2 separate regions of the Homo sapiens genome follow, and region 2 is linked to region 1. The links are contacts of gene promoters, found by promoter capture Hi-C in blood cells and fetal thymus (Javierre and others, 2016). All regions are on one chromosome and are shown on one strand. Each heading gives the region's core, a stretch centred on a gene start or on the middle of the fragment in contact. The rest is flanking DNA. Distances are from core to core; before and after follow the strand shown. Region 1 holds the start of OR10A7 (olfactory receptor family 10 subfamily A member 7). Region 2 has its middle 4.1 kb from the start of DCD.

What was found. Contacts are between HindIII fragments. The CHiCAGO score rates a contact against its expected background, and 5 or more counts as called.
Region 2: a fragment that was not itself captured here is called in contact with the fragment with the promoter of OR10A7 in region 1 in 1 of 17 cell types (non-activated CD4 T cells); the score reaches 5.8 in non-activated CD4 T cells.

Annotation. Positions count from the first base shown.
Region 1 is chr12:55,219,074-55,223,456 of GRCh38, forward strand. It overlaps OR10A7 (olfactory receptor family 10 subfamily A member 7), which reads left to right and starts at 1,952. Exons shown (of 1, transcript NM_001005280.1): 1 at 1,952-2,902. The coding sequence starts at 1,952. The coding sequence ends at 2,902. The HindIII fragment of the contact is 4,903 bases long and covers 1-2,956 here.
Region 2 is chr12:54,650,267-54,654,649 of GRCh38, forward strand. No RefSeq gene overlaps it. Among named protein-coding and RNA genes, the nearest start is that of DCD, 4.1 kb to the left of the region's middle. The HindIII fragment of the contact is 1,656 bases long and covers 1,748-3,403 here.

The sequences.
Region 1 (4,383 bases), core at 702-3,201:
TAATCTGTAGGCTTTTTAGGATATAGAAAGACTGAGAGGAGTATTTAGAGGTACATCCTGTGACATTATAAACCTCTAATTGTCTAAACTTTTATTAAAACTTAAATGCCTTTGGGAAAGGTGAAAAATGTGCAATGGTAATTATTAAAAATTCGAGAAACTGACCATTTTTGGATATCCGTATTCATATTTCACATGGATTGTACATTATAGAACTTATTACTCAATGAAAAGCCATTCATCTTAGTACTGCTTTCTGCCACTGTTAATATTAGAATTCTGAGAGGCAGTTGGTTGAGGCATTTTAGGATGCACTAAATATTGTAACTACTATAAAATCTTGATGCCTTCATCAACTCCCATATTTTTTCAAAACAAAAGATGGTGTAATTTTAGACCCATAACAAGTTTAGAATTGCTCCAAAATGTAGGTAAGCATGATAATGCATATGAAGTTTTTCGTAAGTTTTTATGAATATACCAGGAATATGATGTTGTTGTTTCTATTCCTGATGACAAGAATGATAGTGAAGCTGGTTTTGCAATAGTAGTGAGAGAGTAATGGTTGTAATCACTGTCACATGTTACCTATTATTTTGGGACTTACAAGGGCATGGGAAACCTGAAATCACCAGAGTTGTTCCTTTCTTTTTGCTACTGAGGACATTCCTTTGAGAACTTACAATATGGAAAATACACAGGTAAGATGTTACATGTCTTAAGAGTAGAATTAAAACATAGAATTATTTAAATGAGCCACAGTTTCAGAATGATTCCATACACTGTAAGTTTTTACCTACTGACTTCAGGAGCGGATATCTATTTTAAATTATTTTGACTATAAAATGAAATATGCATTTTTTTCTGAATTAAATTTAAAAAGTATGTAAAATAATTGATACGATATTTACCCAGTTCTAATATTTGGAAAAAATTATTTTTCTAACACATCCTCCTGTAATTGCTAAATTTTGGTACTAAGAATGACCTCCTGTAAAGAAAACAATTGCATAATTTAATGTTGGCCAAAATATTTTGCTCTAAGTAAGATATAGTATTTGAGTTTGTAATGGTTGAATTAGTGCTTTTGGGACTGGATCAGCTGACATACAAAAGTAAGTATATGTACCCTACTTCTGATCATGAAGTTTTAAAGAAGATGGACAGTCATGAGAGGAACTATTTTGGCAGAGAAAAGTTAAGATGAGTGTTGGGAGGATATTTCTCTATTGTAAGTCATATTTGTTTGGAAGTTTTTAAAAAATATAGCTTAAACAATATAACTATAACTCTATGTATAATAAGAAGTGGGGGCCCAGTGAAGTTGAGTTATGGTTCAAAAGACAATATAAAAATGTCATAAACTATTAGGCTGATGGAGACTACAGAGAAGCACCAAAATCATAAGCATATATTATGTTTATTTATTAAGTTTCTTGTGTGTGTGTGTGTGTGTGTACTGGGCATGTTGGTATATGTATATATTTATAGTGGATGAATGGTATAAAATGTACTATATTCAGTAGAAATGTGATTAATATAATTAAATATTAGAATGTCAAACTAGCCCATTATTTATCTTTATTGCATCCTGAAATCATTTAAAAATTAGTACACTATTCTATTTTAATTATCTATCTACACTCTTTCCACTTTATCCTACAAAATAGCATGCCTACGTTGAAGAATATGAGCACAGACTATGACTACTCATGAGAAAAAAATTACATCTAGGTGGTAAACAATGAGTAAGATTTATACAGAATGTTTATTTTTCCTTAATTTTATCTTATCATAAACATCATTTCTGCTTCAGAGAAACAGAATGGTAAGACAACTGAGAATAAAGATGTTTTATGGATGTTATTATTATTTTTGAGATTACCTCTATATTGATTTAATACCCTTTGATGCACATACTTTGATTTTTAGAGAGAAACTCATCTAAGATATGATCTGTGAAAATCACACCAGAGTCACTGAATTTATTCTTCTTGGTTTTACAAACAACCCCGAGATGCAAGTTTCCCTCTTTATTTTTTTCCTGGCCATTTATACAGTCACTTTGTTGGGCAACTTTCTTATTGTCACAGTTACCAGTGTGGATCTCGCACTTCAAACACCCATGTACTTCTTTCTTCAAAATCTGTCACTTCTTGAAGTATGTTTCACCTTGGTTATGGTGCCAAAAATGCTTGTAGATCTAGTGTCCCCAAGGAAAATTATCTCTTTTGTGGGCTGTGGTACCCAGATGTACTTCTTCTTCTTCTTTGGCAGTTCTGAATGTTTCCTTCTCTCCATGATGGCTTATGATCGCTTTGTGGCCATCTGTAACCCTCTCCATTATTCAGTCATAATGAACAGGTCCCTATGCTTGTGGATGGCCATAGGCTCTTGGATGTCCGGTGTTCCTGTGTCTATGCTACAGACAGCTTGGATGATGGCCCTTCCTTTCTGTGGACCAAATGCCGTGGACCACTTTTTCTGTGATGGTCCCCCAGTGTTAAAACTAGTCACAGTGGATACAACCATGTATGAAATGCAAGCACTTGCCTCCACACTCCTGTTTATCATGTTTCCCTTTTGTCTCATTTTGGTTTCCTACACCCGCATTATCATAACAATTCTGAGGATGTCCTCTGCCACTGGCCGCCAGAAGGCATTTTCTACTTGTTCCTCACACCTCATTGTGGTGTCCCTCTTCTACGGAACAGCCAGTCTGACCTACCTGCGGCCCAAATCAAACCAGTCCCCTGAGAGCAAGAAGCTAGTGTCATTGTCCTACACTGTCATCACACCTATGCTAAACCCCATCATCTACGGCCTGAGGAACAATGAAGTGAAAGGGGCTGTCAAGAGGACAATCACTCAAAAAGTCTTACAGAAGTTAGATGTGTTTTGACTTCTATTGTGTAAGAATGCTTCCAAAGTAGGGACAGCAGAACCTACTAACCAAAGCTTAAAACGGAATGGAAGAGTTGCTCTTATTTCATCACTAACTGGTGGGTGCATTTCTGTGTATCATTCAGGTTCCTAGCAGGAAAGAGATGGTACTCCTGAATTGGGATAAGTGAGAAAACGCTTTATGAGAGGGCTATTTAGAAATTGTGAACAAGGTTAGGTAATAGCCACACAGATCATACAACAGAACTTTTACACTTCTTGGCCTGAAGGGGCAAGTAGAAGGAGTGTTAACTGGAACCAATAGAATGCTACAACTATTAAAAAAAAATCACCTGATAGGATCTCTGTTCTTTAGTACAGCAAGGCAGCCATCCCAACCTTATTTTGATCTGACTCTCTCAAATCTATTGCTGGCTTCTGTTCTAAGCCAAACCAAATACAACATGGGGACAAGAATGTTGATGCAATGTATAAATGCGAGTCTCCTGGGGCACAGAGCAGGATGAAAAAGGGTAAGGAAAGTTATGAAAGATAAGTAAGAACAGCCACCACAAACCACTGTATATTCTGCAGCTATTGCAGTGTAACAACGAATCATGGCATCTAACCTTACAAAAATTATAAAAGGTAAAGTTTTGCAGATGCCAAGAGTCCATAATACAAATTCTTTATATGGGTTGTATGTTTAAATAAAGTTATTTAATAAAATTACCTTAGTATTAATATTTGGTGACATGATTTTGGACTTTTTTAGTCATTGGCTAAATTATCCATTAATTATTTAATAGTAAGCTCTTCTTAGAGTTTAAACAAGAAATATTTGCTTGACACCAGAGTAAAGCAAAAGAGTAATAGTAGTAGCAAACATGGTTTATTGAGGAACTGTCTTTGACACATGCCCTTGCAACAACTCAAGAGATAATTATTATATCTATATTTTTCATAAAAGATAAATTACAATCAGAAAATGTAAGTAACTTGGTAAGGCAAAAGCTATTGAGATGTGGCCACAATAGTTTGAGTCAGACCCTTTTGAATTTGAAATTCAATATATTAACCTCTTAAAAATGTCTAGTCACATTTTTATTAAGTTAAAGTTGCCACCTACATGGGAATTTGGCTTTCAAAACAATGGAGAAGACAAGATTGTCAAATTTAATTATGCAAAATTTATATTTCCAGTAGAATAAGCTTATATCGGCTTTGAGAATGCAACTGGAACAATAATATATGTTCCCGTAAATCTTCCTTAACCAAGGTTTCTGTTAATTGTACAGTTTCTTCTTCAAGCAGTAACAAACCTCCATGTTTCTTTGTTAATTTTCAGAAAAATTTAAAAGCCACCACAAATTTCCAACTTGTATTGACTGTTTTAGTTTAATTTTGATTTGCTGAAGTACATATTTATTGCATGTAATGGGAGTTTGAGGTAAAAAAAAAAAACTATTCCTTTAAATCTTTCTCCTTCAATAATCTCTT
Region 2 (4,383 bases), core at 1,326-3,825, 570 kb before region 1:
ATCCTTCTGCAACCAAGCTTTTTGAAAACAACTCCATTTTTTTTTTGGCCTCAACATCCGTGTTTTGCTTTATGTTCTTATCACCCTGTAATGTTTGCACCACCATCCCTGGAACCGAGATACATCCTTGCCAAGGTACTCGGATACAGTCGCCACTTTTCAGCCTTTATCTTATCTGATCTCGGTGGGCTCTGACACTGTTAGAGCCACTCATCTTTTGAGGTGCTGGGGTTTTCTTTCTTTCTCTCCTTTTTTGGGCCACCCTTCAGTCCCACTTTGACTCACCTTGCCTGCCCCTTTGATATTCTCCAGTGTTCTATTCTTAGCCTTTTTCTTCTCTCCTCTTACAAACTCTCCTGTGTGACTCATTCTTGGAGTCACACTTCCTGGCTCCCACATCTTCATTCCGGCCCAGACCTCTCTCCTGAACACTAATATCCACTAATGGATGGGCAGTAATGCACTGATGAACCCTAGGGGTTGCAACTGGCCTCACCTACGTTCCCCACATCTTCCCCATCACCTGCTCCTCCTCCTGCACCATTTTCCATTCTGATTAACAGTATTGACATTCACCCAGTTATCTAAATAGAGATCTGAGAGTAATTTTACATTTTTCCTCCTCTTGGCCCCCTATGTACAAGGACACCGGGGTCTATGAAGTTCTGCCTCTTTGTCAATCCCAGGGCTCTGGCTCAGAAGCCTCTGCCTGGGGGCCTTGCCATTTTTTATGTTCACTGAAGAAACAGCTTCACAAATGGTTTTCCCTCTGACAGTCTCAAGTTCAAACTCCCAGCTGTCTAAGTGATTTATAGTAGACAAACTATGTGCAGAGCACACACCATCTTTCATGAGCTGGCTTCTGTCCGTCCCTTCAGTTTCAACCCTTCTCATTCCCTCATCAAGACTCTGCCTCAGTCACATTAAATTTCTTTCAGTTTCTTGCATAGATTTAATTTTTTCTTGCTTCTGCCTCTTCACGTATTTTCCTCCGTGTATTGTCTTTAATGCCCTCCTACGATTAGATGACAGAGCTTTTTCCTACTCATCCTTTAAGATTCAGATCAGAAATACCTTCTTCCTGGAAGATTTTCTTTTTTTCTTTTCTTTTTTCTTGAGACGGAGTCACGCTCTGTCACCAGGCTGGAGTGCAGTGGTGCAATCTCAGCTCATTGCAACCTCCGCCTCCCAGGTTCAAGCGATTCTCCTGCCTCAGCCTCTCAAGTAGCTGGGACTACAGGCACCCACCACCACCCCTGGCTAATTTTTGTAGTTTTAGTAGAGATGGGGTTTCACCATGTTGGCCAGGATGGTCTTGATGGTCTCGATGTCTTGACCTCGTGATCCGCTCACCTCGGCTCCCAAAGTGCTGCAGTTACAGGCTTGAGCCAGTGGGCCCAGCCCCTGGAAGATTTTCTGGGCATTCTTCTTGTCTTCCTTCCTCTCCCCACCAAAGTGAAGTCAGAGTTCTGGGCTATGCACTTCCACCAGCCCCTTGCTCTTCTCTTTATCTGTGCATCACCTCGATGGTATTGGGATTGTCTGTTTAGTGCTTGGTTTTCCACACTAGACTTCAGCTGTGCAGTGCAGGACCATGTTTAATTTGTCTGTGCACCCCAGCCCCAGTGAGGATGCCAGACACACAGTTAGAATGCAGTAACTTTTGGTGAAGTGCAGCTAGAAACCTACAAGTGAGTGGGGCTAGAAACCTTCAGAATTTGGGCAAGAGATGTGGACTGGTGGATAAAGCTTAGATTAGACTAATAACATTAATCTGTTGGAAAGAGATATGCCAAGCTGCTTTTTAAGAAACTATTTAATATTTGTTTGTAGTTTTTTTCTTTGAGGTAAAACTTACATACAATGAAACTATACAATGAAACATACATATTAACTGTATTTTTTCGTCTTGTCAAATGCATCTACTGATGTAACCCAGACTCCAATCAAGATATGAAGCATTACCAGTAACCCAGAAAATTTCCTCCTGCCTTTTCCCAGGTGATACCTGCCCCAGCTCCTAGAGGCAAGCTGAACTGCTTTTTAAATACACTCTTTTTTTATTTTAAGAGACAGGATCTTGCTCTGTGATCCAGGCTGGAGTGTAGAGATGCCATCATAGCTCACTGCACCCTCAAACTTCTGGGCTCAAGCGATCCTCTCGCTTCAGTTTCTCAATTTAATGCACTCATTGCTGGAATATCTGTGGGGTTTATTCAACCCTAGCTTGATAGCTTTCTTTCTCTGTCTTGTAATGTGGGCTTATGCCTGTAGAAACCTGACAATTCAGGCCATAGAAGCATCCTTGGGTCAGGAAAGAGAGCTTGCATGTTTTCAAAGGTGTGGAGAGTCTCTTTGGTGTTCCGTGGTGAAAAGAGTCAGCACTGGGCCTTCAATTTTCATGCACTTCATCGAGTGATTCCCCAGGAAGGGCCCAGAAGAAAGATTAAGATATGGGGAATACTTGCCTTTGGACAGAATCCGTTTCTGTTTAACTGATGTCTTCCAGCTGGTTCCTCAGAAAGAAAAGGTCAGGTAGGTTCAGAAGTCCAGTGTGGGAATAATGTGGTTAAGAGTTGGGAGTCAGGAGGTGAATTAAGTCTAATATCAAAGGTGGGCAGTGGAGATCTGTGCAGGGCAAGGAGAATTCAGAGAAAGGTAGGCAGGGGCTTCATTCATTTTGCAGGTACTGGGTACTGGCATCTGAGGGATAAGTATGAGTTGGTATCCACCCTCATGGAGCTCATAGTCTCGGCTTGGAAATAAAGTTATGCTAAATAATTCGATATTAATATGACCCATAAAGGAGTACCTAGAAGGGAAAAATGAAGGTCTGAAGCAGTTCAGGGATGTTGAGAAGAGGGGAAACGTTAGAGGAAGCACTCAGGGGCATTATGGTCAGGAAAGTGAGGGAGAGGAAGTGCTCCATTCCTGAAGATCTGAAATCAAGTGAGTGATAGGGCCGGAGATGGAGAGGCTTGAGTATGGGGAGGGCACATGTGTGTGCATGTGTGTGCGTGTGTGTGTGTGTGTGCGCACGCACATTTGAGTGGGAGGTACATGAAGGCAGAGGGCGATGCTCCCTTCTCAGTAGGAACGTCATCTCGGACAGATCATTACACAGCCCTCAGGAACAGTTCTTGCTATTTGCACAAGTATTTTCCAGGAGGAGATTCCAGGAGGAGGAACCTCAGGGTTCTGCAATCAGCACTGCCAAGGAGCAGTTTCTCGGTACTCCTCCTTGCCTCCCTTCCCTACCTGGGCCTCAGGAAAGAAAGGAGGAGGTACTCCCAGGAATTGTGGGGAGGGAGCAGAGGCCTGTAAGGTAAATACCTTTTTTCCCCCAACACTTAAAAAAGATGCTTTTCATGAATTTAAAACAAGTCTGTAATATTCATTACCAAGCTTAGCCTGTTACTCATTATGGAGAGGGAGGCATGGGATGGGAATGGGGGCAGGGATGGTACCCAGAAGACTGCAATTCCTTTTCTCCTGGATGTGGTTAAAGAAAAACACTCCAGTTCTCTGGCTTCCTTGAGGGGGCAATTGTCCGTGGACACCTGGTTGTAGACCCTGGTGCTTGCTGGGGTGCTAATCTGCCCCTTCTCCTGTTCTGCATGTTCTTCCCCTGTTCTTCATTCTTCCCTATCTGGGTACAGTGTCCTATCCTAGACAGTGGGGTGGGGAATGTGGAACACAGAGGGAGGAGGTGACCCTGCATTTACGAGGATGGAAGGTTGATTCCTGTATCTGGGCGGACATAAGGGCCTTTACCTGGCCATCTCACGCTGATCCTAACTGACTTCACTGCTGTTTCTGTTACGCACCCATTGGCACTACAGTAATGCCTTGTTTCTCTGAGCTGGTGGAAGCTAACCAGTCATCTTGGTCAAATGTCAAAAGGTTAACTGCCTGAATTTTATAGGCAATTGCCAGAAAAAGCATCCTCAGAATCAATGTCCCTGGCTTTGAATAATTTCCAGGTGACACATCATGTACCTCTAAAAATCAAATTAATATTTGGAAATGGTCATTAAGAACCAAGATTGAGGAATAAAGTGGAGAGGCATTTGGGTTGAAAACTCTACTCGGTTATTTCATCATAAGGTTCCCATTCTCGTCTGGCTTCTAAACAGGTTCTGAAAATCGATTCAAAAGGGCAGATAATTTTGGAGCAATGAAAGCCCATTTGGGGTGAGTATGGCTTCCCAAGGTGACTAGTTTGAAGAATGTGGTGCTCATTTAGATGTAGAAGTTCTGGCTTATTTGTGACAAATCAATTCTCTTCTCCTTATTATCAAGTTTGAAATTGGCCTTAGCAAGGTCTTTGGTACACTTAGGACATTCTAAATTTCTCTATCCCAAGGGTCTGGAGAATTGAGG